3 separate regions of the Homo sapiens genome follow, and all the other regions are linked to region 1. The links are contacts of gene promoters, found by promoter capture Hi-C in blood cells and fetal thymus (Javierre and others, 2016). All regions are on one chromosome and are shown on one strand. Each heading gives the region's core, a stretch centred on a gene start or on the middle of the fragment in contact. The rest is flanking DNA. Distances are from core to core; before and after follow the strand shown. Region 1 holds the start of CDK17 (cyclin dependent kinase 17). Region 2 holds the start of NR2C1 (nuclear receptor subfamily 2 group C member 1). Region 3 overlaps VEZT (vezatin, adherens junctions transmembrane protein).

What was found. Contacts are between HindIII fragments. The CHiCAGO score rates a contact against its expected background, and 5 or more counts as called.
Region 2: a contact is called between a fragment that was not itself captured here and the fragment with the promoter of CDK17 in region 1, in 1 of 17 cell types (fetal thymus). The highest score is 8.1, in fetal thymus.
Region 3: a fragment that was not itself captured here is called in contact with the fragment with the promoter of CDK17 in region 1 in 1 of 17 cell types (fetal thymus); the score reaches 5.4 in fetal thymus.

The regions. Positions count from the first base shown.
Region 1 is chr12:96,398,310-96,403,298 of GRCh38, reverse strand. It overlaps CDK17 (cyclin dependent kinase 17), which reads left to right and starts at 2,860. Exons shown (of 17, transcript NM_002595.5): 1 at 2,860-3,313. RefSeq lists an enhancer at 1,877-2,096 and silencers at 2,517-2,846, 2,937-3,116, 3,297-3,456. The HindIII fragment of the contact is 3,343 bases long and covers 1,473-4,815 here.
Region 2 is chr12:95,069,971-95,074,959 of GRCh38, reverse strand. It overlaps NR2C1 (nuclear receptor subfamily 2 group C member 1), which reads left to right and starts at 1,342. Exons shown (of 14, transcript NM_003297.4): 1 at 1,342-1,580. RefSeq lists enhancers at 1,245-1,564, 1,255-1,755 and a silencer at 1,645-1,924. The HindIII fragment of the contact is 306 bases long and covers 1,916-2,221 here.
Region 3 is chr12:95,220,163-95,225,151 of GRCh38, reverse strand. All of the region lies in intron 1 of VEZT (vezatin, adherens junctions transmembrane protein), which reads right to left. Among named protein-coding and RNA genes, the nearest start is that of VEZT, 4.8 kb to the right of the region's middle. The HindIII fragment of the contact is 875 bases long and covers 2,012-2,886 here.

The sequences.
Region 1 (4,989 bases), core at 1,611-4,110:
CACCTGCCTCGATCTCCCAAAGTGCTGGGATTACCGGTGTGAGCTACCGCGCCTGGCCAAATTTTAAATCGGTTTAGAAAAGTAATTAAATAGGCCATGGGGCTGGGTGCTGTGGCTCACCCAGCACTTTGGATCACTAGAGCTCATGAGTTCGAGACCAGCCTGGCCAACATGTCCAAACCCCGCCTCTACTAAAAATACAAAAATTAGCCGGGCGTGGTGATGGGCACCTGTAATCTCAGCTATTCAAGAGGCTGAGGCAGGAGAATTGCTTGAACCCAGGAGATGGAGATTGCAGTGAGTTGAGATGATGCCACTGCACTCCAGCCTGGGTGACAGAGCAAGACTCCCTCTAAAAATAAATAAATAAACAGATAAATAAATAGGCCAGGGGTGGTGGCTCCTGTTTGTAGTCTCAGCACTTTGGGAGGCCGAGGTTGGAGGATTGCTTGATGTCAGGAGTTAATACCAGCCTGGGCTGTCGGCATAGTGAGACTCCATCTCATTTAAATAAATAAATAAATAAATAAATATGAAAAGTAATGAAATAAATATTGTGCAATCTGTAATTTTTTTTTTCATTGAAAGAACAAATCCTCCAGGCACGGTGGCTCACGCCTGTAATCCCAGCATTTTGGGAGGCCGAGGAGGGTGAATCATCTGAGGTCAGGAGTTTGAGACCAGCCTGGCCAACAGGGTGAAACCCTGTCTGTACTAAAAATGCAAAAAATTAGCCGGGCGTGGTGGCGGATGCCTGTAATCCCAGCTACTTGGGAGGCTGAGGCAGGAGAATCGCTTGAACCTGGGAGGCGGATGTTGTAGTCAGCTGAGACCACGCAACTGCACTCCAGCCTGGGCAACAAGAGCAAAATTCTGTCTTAAAAAAAAAAAAGAAATAACAAACCAATCAATCAAATAATCACCTAAGTTTTCATTATGAATTCGTCTTTTTTTTTTCTTTTTGAGACGGTGTCTCACTCTGTCACCCAGGTTGGCGTGCAGTGGCAGAATCTCAGCTCACCGCAAACTCCGCCTCCCAGGCTTAATGGATCCTCCCACCTCAGCCTCCCAATTACGAATTCTTTGTTATGCTAATGAAAGATGTAGAAAGAGGAGAGGGTGCTTTGGATGAGACAGAATAATCTTTTTATTTCTCATGGAGTAATGTTAATCTAATGATATGAAGGTATAAGTATTAATGCTGAAACTCAGAATGCCATTTCATAGACTCCCTTTTTTGGTGATTTTTTGATATTTACTAAAGTACTAATTTAGATGAGGCAAGTATATGAAAATCCTTTCATATAAATAGGCCTTGTATAAATATCAGTGTTTCTCTTTAACTTAAAAAGAACTCTGAAAATGATGCTACATCTTGCTATATTATAAAGTTCCAAGTTTGACTTGGACAAATCTAAAAAGCCTCATTAACAGTGCTTTTAAACAAAGCGCACTTGTTCTAACGGAAAGCTTGTTATGTATATTTGCATTCTTGGTTGGTAAACAAGTGTTAAATACGCGTAGAGCATAATTGTTGCTAATTTACGGGTCCTGGTAATTTTAGAGGCATGGGAAAAGCCTGATTGACACGTACGATCGTTGGATATAACTGTAGATGCATTTAACTTTGCCAAACAAAATAAGAGAAAGATGTCAGCATGCAGCATTTTTAAGGGGGAAAGGATTCATCCCTAAATCCAAAAAGATAATTCCCCGAAGTTCTTAGCACATAATGTGATTTGAAACTTCAAAGCAGCTTCTACTTCCGGGTGTTAACATGGGAAAAAAAATTTATCTCACTTCACAGGACTTTTATGTGGGTTTTTTTTTCTTGTTTATGTTGTCTACATCCGGTCCCTACTCTCTTCTTTCAATCCTCTCATTATCTCCCTCTAGGGGTTTAAGTTTGTTTTAACTTTATGCTTTTATCCTTATTAGTGGAAAAAAGTGGGTCAGTATTACTTTAGTTTGTCTTCACTGCCACTCTGCTGTTCATTCCTGAACTAGCTTTTAGCCTCTGGGAAAGGAGAAAGTAAAAACAGTTGCAGAAACTGGGCCAACCTCTCGCGGCCCGCCTCCCCCAAGAAAACAAAACCTAACCCGTGCAACAGTAGTCCTTTCTGTTTTCATAGCACCTTGTATTTCTCCGCTCATAACGTTCAGATTTTTATGATAGTTATTGATCATCTTTCATCCCAGCTAGACTCTCCGTCCTTAGAGGACTCAGCATATTGCCGGGCACATGATAATATATACAAAACACTGTACTGTAGTTTAAATGAATAGATGCCGTGTGTGTGAGAGACTGCGGCACTAGTACCCACGTACCCACACACAACAAAGGAGAAAAGTTGCAGCCATCAACATCTTTCAGTGTGGGTCCTTTGACATGGACTCTCTAGAAAGTCAGTGGAGAACTGTGGCATGGACACCTTGTACAGTAATTACTTGTATAACTGAAGCACGAGTTTTGGTTTGGTAGCGGGAAGTTGAGGGGCAGGGGGATGTTGGAGGGGCTGAATTATTCACATAATTTCTCCCCCAGTCGCTGCGGACAGGCACTCATTCCGGTGGGGTCCCCTGGCCCCCTCCGCCGCTCCCCCGACGCCCGCATTTCGGAGCGGGCAGTTTCCCGGGGACACCCGCCCCGCCCTGCAGGCCCCGCCCCCGGCCGCCGGCCCCGCCCCCGCCTCCGCCGCCGCCGGCAGGGGTCGCGCTGCCCCCGGCGAGCCGCTCAGGCGGGGGTGGGGTAAGCTCCCGCGGCCGGTCGCTTTTCTCCGCCGCCGCTGGTTGGATCGTTTCAATAAAAGTGTTTTTTCTCTTGCACTCGCTCTCCTCCGGGGAACAGGCGGAGGCGTCAATCCGCAGCCGCCGAGTGTGAAAGCGACGCACACGCAAGGAGCGAACGCGGCCGCCCGCAGTCTCCTGAGCTCCCCGCGGGCCGCCGCAGAGCCGCGGAGAAGGAGCCAGCGCCCGGCCAGACAGTCTCAGCCCGCCGTCGGCGCCCGCCGCGCTCGCGCCCGGCTGCTCCGAGGGGATTAGTGGGCCGTCCGCGCGGCTCGTCGGCGCGGGAGCCATGTTGACCGAGGGACTTGGCAACGCGTGAGACACCCGCGGCCCCTCCCGAGGCTCCGGACCCGCGGCGAGAGCCGGAAGGCGGCTGTGGCGGCGGAGGCCTGCGCTCGGAAGCGCCTCACGTCTGCCGGCCGCTGAGACCCGGACTTGCATCCGGTCGCCGCGGGCGTCCGCGGAGCAGCTTCCCCCCGCGCCTCTCTTCGCCTCGCCTCGGGACCCGCGGTCCCCGCTCTTGCTGGTGAGTTGGCGGCTGGCGTCCGCGCCGCGCTTTCCCCTGGTGTCGGGTCGGCCGCGGGGCCGGGAGGCTGCGTGGGACAGAGGCGGGGGCGGGGGCTACTGGGGGCGCGGGTGGCTCAGGCCCGGTCGGGAAGTTGAGCGAGGAGGCGCGGCGCGGGGGGCTAGCGTGCGCCTGTCACCTCTCCGGTCCAGCGAGGACCTTGGGTCGCCCGGGGATTTCCGGGGCTCGGGTGGGGTGTGAGTGTCTGCGAGCTGCTTCCCAGGAGGCGCCGACAGATATAGACGCCGCCGCCTCCGGTGCTCGCTGCCGCTTTGGTCTGCGGGGGAGGCCGGTCTCCTCGCGAGGCGGAGGAGGGGAAAGAGGCAGAAAGTCCCCCGAGACACAAAGGTCCCCTCGGCGGGGGTGGAGCTGGAGGCGCAGGCGACGCTGCCCGGGAGGGGAAGGAAGGGGCGCGGGTCCGCGGGAGGTGGGCGAGGAGGCGGCGGTCGCGGCGCCTGCAGCTCCTTGGAGACGCTGGCGCTGTGCGCGGGTGGGGAGCGCGGAGGAGGAGGAGGAGCCCGCGCGTGGGAGCGGGTAGAGACAAAGATCAGGGCAGCCTCCTGCTGGCGGGTCACACCCCGGAGTGTTGGTCAAGAGCGGAGGTAGAGGGAAGGTGGGAAACCCAGCAAACCGATGGGGAGGGGAAAATGGGGGGAGGAGGGTGCCTAGTGCTGTCTCCGTCGCAGTTGCTTTTCTCAGCATTTTTGTGCCCGATGCTATGCCCGATGCTTTTGCTCCCCAACTCAGCTGGATAGCTCCAGATTCCCTCCCTCCTGTCACCCCCACACTGCCACATTGACTCTCCTGTGGTTTTTCCCTCGTTCTCCCCCTACTTTTCACCCACTCCTTTTCGGGTAAGCAGTATTTTGCTTTCAGCTTGGGGAACATTTGTTAATGACAGGATGTCTGAGCTTGTTCTGACCCTGAACTGCCTTGAACTTCTCTCTCTTCCTCCCACCCTTTCCTTTTCTGGGATCTATAATGTCACATGGCCGTTAACAATTAGCTTTTCTTTTGCAAAAGTGGCAAAAAGCGTTTAGCTGAAATCTGTGGCTCTCGCCTCCTTTACATGAATATGTCCACCAAAGACACCTCGTTGGTCATGTTCTATCACCTCTTCGTCAAATTGACATCAGGTCCTAACAGGTCACTTTCAAGATACAGAAGAGGCAAATTTTGTTTTGAGACTTGGCCATTCCTAGGGTCAGCAAAGTGTATTCCTGGCAGCCAGACCTTCAGTCACTTATCAGGAAATGCTTGACCTAAAGACAGACAATTCTTTCCCCAAACTTTGCTGTTTCTTTTTTGAGTCTTTGTTGAAAGATTTCTTTTAAAAGGCGTTCGTGTGAGAAGATCACAGCAACAAATCTGGCTTGTTCTGTTTTAGACTTACTTTCTTAACTCTTGGGCAGAAGAAAATGAATGAGATTTGAAGACCTTTGATACCTTGGGTAGACAAAGCTTGCCTTGAAACTAGAAATAAGACGAAACTAGATTTTAAGGGGAAAAAATTTGCTAGTGGTAATATAATTGGTTTTGTTTCATTTTTTTATGAGTCTGAGGAGTTGACATTAAACGTTGGGATGTTGCTTTGTTAATGAAGTCATTTCAATTTTTGCAACTCTTAACATCTGCAT
Region 2 (4,989 bases), core at 819-3,318, 1.3 Mb after region 1:
AGTTTGTGGCTGCTTTCCTACAGTGCCGACCTAAGCTAGATAAAATAGAAATTTCATGACAAAACAAAGGAGATTTAAAAAAAAACTAGAAATTTCAAGAATGCTTCAAAATCTAAAGCGCAGAGTACTTTGCACACAGGGCAGTTATTCCTGCCACACCTTGCCACTACAGGTGGCCACTGTCAGAATGCGATGTTCCACCAATGTCTCTTCATTTCACAATTTGAAAAATTTTTTTTGTGGAGGCAGGGTTTTGTTATCTTGCCCAAGCCGGTCTCCAACTGCTGGCCCCAAGTGATCTTTCCTTGGCCTCCCAGCAGCCACTTGCCTGGCTTTCATTTCATACATCATTATTGAATAGCAGGCATTGTCCTATGTGCTTGGTAATACATCACTGAGCAAAACAGACAAAAAACGGCCATTGAGGATAATCCTCAATATATAATAATATATATATTATAGAGAGGATGTGGAATATACATATATATGTGTGTGTGTATATATAGAGAGAGAGAGAAAGACTCATTGTGTCACCCAGGCTGGAGTGCGGTGGTGTGATCTTGGCTCACTGCCGTCTTGACTCAGGTGATCCTCCCACCTCAGCCTCCAAGTAATTGGGACGACAGGCACGCGCCACCAGGACTGGCTAATTTTTTTGTAGAGACGGGTTTTCGCCATGTTGGCCAGGCTGGCCTCAAACAACCGGGCTCAAGTGATCCGTCCGCCTCGGCCTCCCAACTTGCTGGGATTACAGGCGTGAGCTACCGTGCCCAGTCTCTAGTGATTATATTCTTGCCCTGTTTAGCCATTATGTCTCTTTACTCACAACAGTTTATAAGTGAAACTTTGCCTTACCATTTGCATGAGTCGGCCTCAGCTTGTCATTATATATAAAGCTTACTAATGTAAATGACGAGTTAATGGGTGCAGCACACCAACATGGCACATGTATACATATGTAACGAACCTGCACGTTGTGTACATGTACTCTAGAACTTAAAGTGTAATACAAAAAAAAAAAAGTTTAAATATGATTGGACTCTACCCCAGAGCCCAGTTTTCCAGAAATTAGAAACAGATATGCCTAAGACCCAGAGGGTTATTTATTACTCAAATCTAAAACGTTGACTCAAAACCTCCCCTAATGCCCACCTTTGGCAAACGATGCTTAAACCTTTGCACGTGGCTTCAAAAATTACCTGGCTGGGAACGCGTAGCTCTGGCGGGGCACTCTGCCTCCAAGCCAAAAGGGGGCAGTGGACTCACAGAGCCGCTGCTCGGCCCTCCGATCCCTCCACCCCACCCTGGGAACGTCACGACCTCCTCTCGCCGCTTCTCCCCGTTGCTAATGCGCAGGCGCTGGCGGGATAGCGCGCCGCCGAGCCGAGAAAGAGGTCACGAACTCTGACCCCCCAGAAATACCCAAACACAGAAAGCTCTCTCCGCCGTGAATCTCGATCCCACATCCCGTCGGCTTTCTTCAACCTCTCTTCCCGGAGCGCCCCCCAATCCACGAGTGGCAGCCGCGGGACTGTCGCGTCGGCGCCCGACGCCGGAGTCAGCAGGGCGCAAAAGCGCCGGTAAGAAACGCTGGGTGGGGACACCAGCGACCGCGTCGGGGGCGGGGGCCAGGGGGTGCCCTTCACCCCAACCGCCAACGGACGCGGTCCCAGCGCATCCCCCGGCCGGCGTCCTGCGGCCAGCGGAGCCGTTCAGTTTGGGAGCGCCGCTTGGGGCTGCTCGACTTCGGCTGGGAGCGCGGAGCTGCGGCGCCAAATGCGCGGGGCCCCGGGAGAGGCGGGGGCGACAGGGGCGGCGGGACGCGGGGCCGGACGGCGAGCGGCTTGGAGCACACAACCCCCTTTCCAGCTGCGCTTACCGCAGCGCCTCTGACCTTTAACCTGCAGGGAAAGCTTCCGCGGCGCTGCAGCTTTCCCCGCCCGGGAGAGCCGCGCGCAGCGCCGGGGCTTCCAGGGCGCACGGCTAACGCCGGCACGAGTGAGACGTGGGAGAGGCCGACCCTCGGCTAGTGGCCGCAAGTCCCGGCCTGCATCCCGTCACTAACTCCCGTGCTTTCACGGGACGGACAGAATGACTCCCCCCACTTTCACTTTTCTCTCACGGCAAATCTGGCCAGGGTCGTCGCTGCCTGTGGGCCTGGATCTTTTCAGAAGAAATGGAACGGCCCCAGGGTTCTCACTGCAGGGGGCATGTCCAAGCTTCCGATAGATAGCTCTTTTGTTAAGAAATAATTCTTCCAACTCGGGCAGATACCATTTTTGTGCAGTACGAATGTTGCCAGGTTGTCCCATAATCTTCAGTAAGTAGGTCAGCCTTTAAAAAAGTAACCGGAAAGCAAAAGCAGAAAGACCTAAAATTACGGCCTTTAGGGTTTAGTACCGCTAGAATTTGTAAATGGACCTTCGATTTTGAGCTTTTTTGAACCATTTCTGCTGTGTGGTTGGTGATACTCGATTTTTTTTTCTTTTTTTTTTTTTTTTTTTGAGAGGGAGAGGGAGTCTCACTGTCGCCAAGCTGGAGTGCGGTGGCGCGATCTCGGCTCACTGCAACCTCCGCCTCCAGGTTCAAGCGATTCTCCTGTCTCAGCCTCCCGAGTAGCTGGGATTACAGACACGAGCCACCACACCCAGCTAGTTTTTTTGTTTTTGTTTTTGTTTTTGTTTTTTGTATTTTTAGTAGAGGTGGGGTTTCACTATGTTGGCCAGGATGGTCTTGATACTCTGACCTCGTGATGTACCCGCCTCTGATCCACCCGCCTCGGCCTCCCAAAGTACTGGGATTACAGGCGTGAGCCACCGCGCCCGGCCGATGATTGTTTTTAAACTTTGCTTTAAGTCCAGTTAGTATATCTGAAAAAGCGATGTGTATTTCTATCATTAAAAGTGGGTCGCGGCTGGGCGCGGTGGCTCACACCTGTAATCCCAGCACTTTGGGAGGCTGAGGTGGGCGGATCATCTGAAGTCGGGAGTTCGAGACCAGCCTGACCAACATGGAGAAACCCCGTTTCTACTAAAAATACAAAATTAGTCGGGCGTGGTGGCGCACACCTGTAATCCCAGCAACTCCGGAGGCCGAGGCAGGAGAATTGCTTGAACCCGGGAGGCGGAGGTTGCAGTGAGCTGAGATCGCGCCATTGCACTCCAGCCTGGGCAAGAAGAGCGAAACTCCGTCTCAAAAAAAAAAAAAAAAGTGGGTTTTATGAAATGTTGCTAATCTTAGTTTTTCAAGGGGCATGTTAGTTTCTTCTAGGAAAGGTTTTTTTGTTTTGTTTTATAGAAATGGTGGGGGGCCTCATTTTGTTATCCAGACAGATCTCTGGCCTCAAGCTATCCTCCTGCCTCAGCCTGTTGAGTAGCTGGAATTACAGGCACCGCATCTTAAGGAAGGATTTTGAGGGAGCAAACATCCCCAAACACACACCGTCTGTGTGTCTGCCACACAATGTATAATCCCTACTCTTGGGGAATAAAAACAAAACAGCATACAATAAATAATAGTATAAATATAATTCGTTGCCGTTTTTCAGTGACAAGACCATCTACAGCCTCTTGAAGTCTTTTATGAACTTGTCTAGAAAAATGCACCTTTAGATAAAATTTTACAGACAGTATTAGGAGTTAACAGAAATCTATTTCTGAATCCTAGCTAACAACCTTAGTCTACAAAATAATTGTTCGACCCTTCAAGAAAGACTGGGTAAAAAACTATTTGAATCAAAATTTTTTTTTTTTTTTTTTGAGACGGAGTTTTGCCCTTGTTTCCCAAGCTGGAGTGCAATGGCACGATCTCGGCTCACTGCAGCCTCCACCTCCCAGGTTCAAGCGATTCTCTTGCCTCAGCCTCCTGCATAGCTGGGATCACAGGCGCCGTCCACCACACCCGGCTAAATTTTTGTATTTTTCGTAGAGATGGGGTTTCACCATGTTGGCCAGGCTGGTCTTGGACTCTTGACCTCAGGTGATCCACGTGCCTTGGCCTCCCAAAGTGCTGGGATTACAGGCGTGAGCCATCGCCCCTGGCTTGAACCAAATCTTAAAAGTCAGGTGGAATTTAAATGAGGGAGAAAGTAGGAATATGTTGGGGGAATAAAGAACATCGTAGTTTGACCTGAACAGAGGCCCCTCTTGGGAGTGATAGGAAATGAGAATAGGGGGAAGTCGGATTATAAAAGAACTCTCCATTGTGGTGTTCACAGTGCCAGGCACCTTGTGAATGCATAATAAATATTGAATGAATACCAAGGGAAGGGGTTAAAACTTTGTTCCCTTGCCATTAAAGCAGCACTGATGGTCTGAAGCTGGAGAATAAGGATAAGTCGTTCTGTGAATGCCTGGCCCCTAGTAAGCATTCAACAAGTGATTTGTTGAATGGAAGAAAATTGAATAAATTTTTGAGCCAGTCAATATGAACATTTTTAAGGCTCTTGGTATACATTGGCAAATTACTTTTCTAGGAAGGTTAAAACAGTCTAACCTTCCACCAACAGTGTATAAAGAATGTGTGTGTTGGCTAGGTGTGGTGGCTCATACCTGTAATCCCCACACTTTGTGAGGCTGAGGTGGGCGGATCACTTGAGATCAAGAATTCGAGACCAGCCTGGCCAACATGGTGAAACCCTTTCTCTACTAAAAATACAAAAAGTACCTGGGCATGGTGGTGCATGCCTGTAATCCCAGCTACTCGGGAGGCTGAGGCAGGAGAATTGCTTGAACCTGGGAGGCAGAGGTTGTAGTGAGCCGAGATTGCACCACTGCACTCCAGCCTAGGTGACAGAGCAAGATTCTGTCTCAAAAAAACAAAAAACAAAAAACAAAAAAAACTTGTAAATTTTACTTTTGTATTGGCTACTCAAGGCCAGTTTATCAGGCTGGATCCTATTTGAAGTTGGGAAGAATGGGAAGAAAACAGACACTGCTATCAGAGCAGCCTTAACTTACACCATTACTTACCTACTTCTTTCTCATCTCT
Region 3 (4,989 bases), core at 1,200-3,699, 1.2 Mb after region 1:
CACATAGACAGGTTCCTGTTTACTGCATTAACAGGGGTCCTCAACCCCCAGGCCTGCACAGCACTGGTACCGGTCCATGGCCTGTTAGGAATACAGCCCGAGGCCAGCAGGATGGTGGGCCAGTGGGTGAGCAAGCGTTACTATCAGAGCTCCGCCTCCTGTCAGATCAGTGGCAGCATTAGATTCTCATAGGAGCAGGAACCCTATTGTGAAATGTGCATGTGAGAGATCTAGGTTGTGAGCTCCTTATGAGAATCTAACTAATGCCTGATGATCTCAGGTGGAACAGTTTCATCCTGAAACCATCCTCCATCTGGAAAAACTGTCTTCCACGAAACAAGTCCCTGGTGCCAAAAACCAGTCACTGTGCATTAGGATGTATGGGTGACACAGTACTTAGTATCTAGAAGTAGGGCTGACTCAGCAGAACCTGAAATATGTTCCACTGGCTGAGTAATCAAGTGGTAGATGGCAAGAAAACATGCCTTACAAGCTTTCAGCTCTTCAAAAGAAGGCCTTTCTCAGTCAGTGGCCTGAGATCTAAGTTGAATGAAAGTGGTAATAGGGGTAGAGGGGGTTACAGGTCTCATAGGTGGTAAAGCCCAAACACAGGAAATAAGATGGCTGCTCCTAGCCTTTCCCAAGAAGAATCCCGTGATAAGAGTTACAGGTTAGCTGGACATGGTGGCACCTGCCTGTAGTCCCAGCTACTTGAGAGGCTGAAGTGGTAGGATCACCTGAGCCAGGAGTTGGAGGCTGCAGTGAGTTATGATGGTTAACACTGCATTCCAGCCTAGGCAACAGTGCAAGACCCTGTCAAAAAAAAAAAAAAAGTTGTGGCTTTAGGTACAGGAATGCAATCACTAACAAATAGTAGCCGTAGAGGGAAAGAATTCAGACAAGAAACACCCAAACCTCTCTGGCGCTCTTTCCTCCATCCTCTGATCTGCAGGTCCTTCCCACTGGCCGAACCTAAATGGAACCCAGAGGACAAGGGAATGCAGTGATGCAGTCCATAATGATCAGGGTGGAATTATGGGTCTGAGGGACACAGGGAGAAAAATAATCACCAATGATAACATCAATCCCTCAACTATATACTTGGGTATTAAATAAGAAATAAAAATGGAACTTATACAACCATGAGACAAACTACATTTCAAAACTTTCGTGATACAACTGAAGCAATACTCAGGGAAATTTATAGCCTTACAAGTTATTTTGGGCATTTAGGTTTTTAACTCAAGAAGCTAAAAAAAACAGAACAAAAATAGCAAAATAAACACAAATAGATGAATGGAAATAGATAAAAGTAGAAATTTTAAAAAAATTTAAAACCACAAACAAATTCAATAGAACTGACCAAACAAAACCAACTAGTTTTTTGAAAAGTCTACCTGAGGCCAGGCACGGTGGCTCACATCTGTAATCCCAGCACTTTGGTAGGCCGAGGTGGGTGGATCACCCGAGGTCAGGAGTTCAAGACCAGCCTGGCCAACATGGTGAAACCCCATCTCTACTAGAAATACAAAAATTAGCTGGGCATGGTGATGGGTGCCTGTAATCCCAGCTACTCGGGAGGCTGAGGCAGGAGAATTGCTTGAACCCAGGAGGCAGAGGTTGCAGCAAGCCAAGATCCTGCCATTGCACTCCAGCCTGGGCGACAAGGCTAACAGAGTGGAACTCTGTCTCAAAAAAAAGAAAAGTCTATCTGGTAAGTTGAAACTCCAGCACATCTATGCAAAACAAAAAGAAAAACATAACAACAATCAGATCTAATTTGTGCTATAAATGAAACTAAAGAGACTACTAAGAATATATCAATAATTTTGAAAACCTAGATAAAAAGCAATTTGTTGGAAAAATTTAATAAAAGGTAACATTTACTGAGTGTTTACAATGTGTCAGGTACTCATCTAAGTAATTCACTTATATTAAATCATTTAGTACTCATAACTACCTTACGAGATAGTTACTGTTATTTTTATTTAATATGGAGAAAACTGAAGCTTAGACAAGTTAAGTAACCTGCTCAAAGTCACATTAACTAATATAACTAATAAATAGCTGACCTAGGATTTCTTAGGTTATCCAGCTCCAGAGCCCATATCTTTAACTATATTACACTGCCTTTCAGAATAAAAAAGTTATCAAAATAGAAAATTGTACCTGAGCAATAACCATAAAAGAAATTGAGCTGATAGACAACATTCAGTCTCTTTTCCCCAGGAAAGGCCAATTTAGCTATACTCTGAAGAAACAGATAATTCTCATTTTGTAAAATCAGTCCTAGAGCACAGAACGAGATGAGAAGTTGCTTGATTCATTTAGAAGGCAAGCAATAAATGTTCACGGATTGGAAGATTCAATATTGATTGTAAAGATGTTAAGTTTCCCCAGATTAATTTATAGCTTCAAAGCAATTTCAATCAAAGTCTCAGTAGGGTTTTTTTATTTTTATTTTTTATTTTTTTACAAAAACTGACAGGCTGATTCTAAAATTTATATGGAAATATAATGGGCCAAGAATAGCCAAAGGCAATCCTGAAGAAAAATACAGCTGAAGGGTCTTATGCTATCAGATATTAAAACCTATTTTTTAAATTATAGTAATTAAAATAATGTGGTATTAACACACGAATAGACAAAATGATCAATGGCAAAGAAGACAGTGTCCAGAAAGAGATCTACACATAAAAGATTCCCTGATTTATGACAAAGGCAACACTACAGTTCAGTGGGGAAAAAATGATCTGTTCAGTAAATGGTGCCAGGTCAACTGGACATCCATACGGGGAAAAAAAAATGTTGATCTTCACTTGTTACCATACAAAAATCAGTACCAGATGGATGACAGATCTAAATGGGAAAATGTCAAATAAAGCTTTTAAAGAAAATATCTTTGTGACCTTAGAGTAGGCAAATATTTTTTTAACAGCACTAATCACAAAAGAATAAGGTTTAATTGGATTATAATAAGGAGCTTCTGTTCATTGAAAGACACGATTAAAAGAGTGCAGAGGCCACATATAGCCCAAGGTAAGATATATGAGGTATATACAGTTGTCTCTTTATTCATGGGGAATTGGTCACAGGACTAGGGCAAATACCCAGTCCATGGATGCTCAAGTCCCTTATATAAAATGGCATAGTATTTGCATATAACATACACACAGTCTCCCACATATTTTAAATCATCTCTAGATTATTTGTAATACCTAATACAATGTGAACACTATGTAAATAGTTGTTATCCTGTATAGTTTTTTTATTTGTATTATTTTTTGAATATTTTTGAGTATTTATTTATTTATTTAGAGATATGGTCTCACTCTGTCACCCAGGCTGGAATTGTAGCTCACTGCAGCCTCAAATTCCTGGGCTCAAGCAATCTTCTGCCTCAGGCTGTGGAGTAGCTGGCATTACAGACATGCATCACCACACCTGGTTAATTTTTTTCTTTTTTTTTTTTAATATGCAGGGTTTTGTTAATGTTGACCAGGCTGGTCTTAAACTCCTGGCTTCAAGCAATATTCCTACCTTAGCCTCCCAAAGTGCTGGGATTACAGGCATGAGCCACCTCACTGGGCCAGAGTATTTCCTTTATTTTTTTTTTTTGAGATGGAATCTTACTCTGTCACCCAGAGCAACCTCCGCCTCCTGGGTTCAAGCGATTCTCATGCCTCAGCCTCTGGAGTAGCTGGGACTACAGGTGCATGCCACCATGCCCAGCTAGTTTTTGTATTTTTTAGTAGAGACTGGGTTTCGCCATGTTGGCCAGGCTGGTCTCAAACTCCTAGCCTCAAGTGATCTGCCTGGCTTAGCTTTCCAAAGTGCTAGGATTATAGGCGTGAGCCACGGTTGGTCCAATCTGCAGATGTGGAACTCTCAGCTAAGGAGGGCCAACTGCATCTCTAACAAAGGACTTGTATCCAGTGTATGTAAATAATTCCTTCAAATCAGCAAGAAAAAGAAACAACCCAATAGAAAAATATGCAAGAAATTTGACGTGGCTTCACAAAATGGATATACAATTGGCTAATAAACACATTAAAAATCTTAACATCTTTATCAAGAAAATACAAATTAAAACCACAAGGAGATACCAGGACATAGCCCCTAGAATCATAAAAAGAAAAACACTAAAATTAGCAAGGGTTGATGAGGATGTGGGGCAATGGGACCTCTCATACATTCCTGGCTGGAGAATAAACTGGTACAACCACTTTGGAATAAAGTTTGGCAATATCTACAGAAATATCTAGGTATTTGCTATGACCCAGCAATTCCATTCCTACATATATATCCACCAGAAATATGTTTAACCAAACACATACAAAAAGGTTCACAGTAGCACTAGTTTAAACCTGGGAACTACTCAATGACCATTAATAGAAGAATGAATTTAAAAATGATCATATATTCACATGGAATACTATGCCAAAATAAAAATTCTCATGTTAACAATATGGACGAATCTCACAAATAAAGCCAGAGAGGAAAAAAAAAAGTCAGAAATAAGAGAGTATATAAATGGAAATGCACAGTGTCTAAACAATAAAAATAGACAAAATTAATCTAGGTTATTATGTTTAAATAGTGATCATTTTGGGGTAGGGAGTAGTGATGGAAAGGACCAGGAGGGAGCTTCTGGTGTGCTGGTGATGTTGTTTCTTTTTTCATTTTTTATTTTTTTGGGGCAGAGTCTGGCTCTGTCATCCAGGCTGGAGTACAGCGGTGCGATCATGGCTCACTGCAGCCTTGACCTACCCAGGCTCAAGTGATTCTCCCACCTCAGCCTCCCGAGTAGCTGGGACTATAGGCATGTGCCACCACGCCCAAATAATTTTTGTCTTTTTTGTAGAGATAGGGTTTCACCATGTTGTCCAGGCTAATCTCAAACTCCTGGGTTCAAGGGATCCATCTGCCTCAGCCTCCCAAAGTGCTGAGATTACAGGTGTGAGCCACCATGCCCCATCTGTCCCGTTT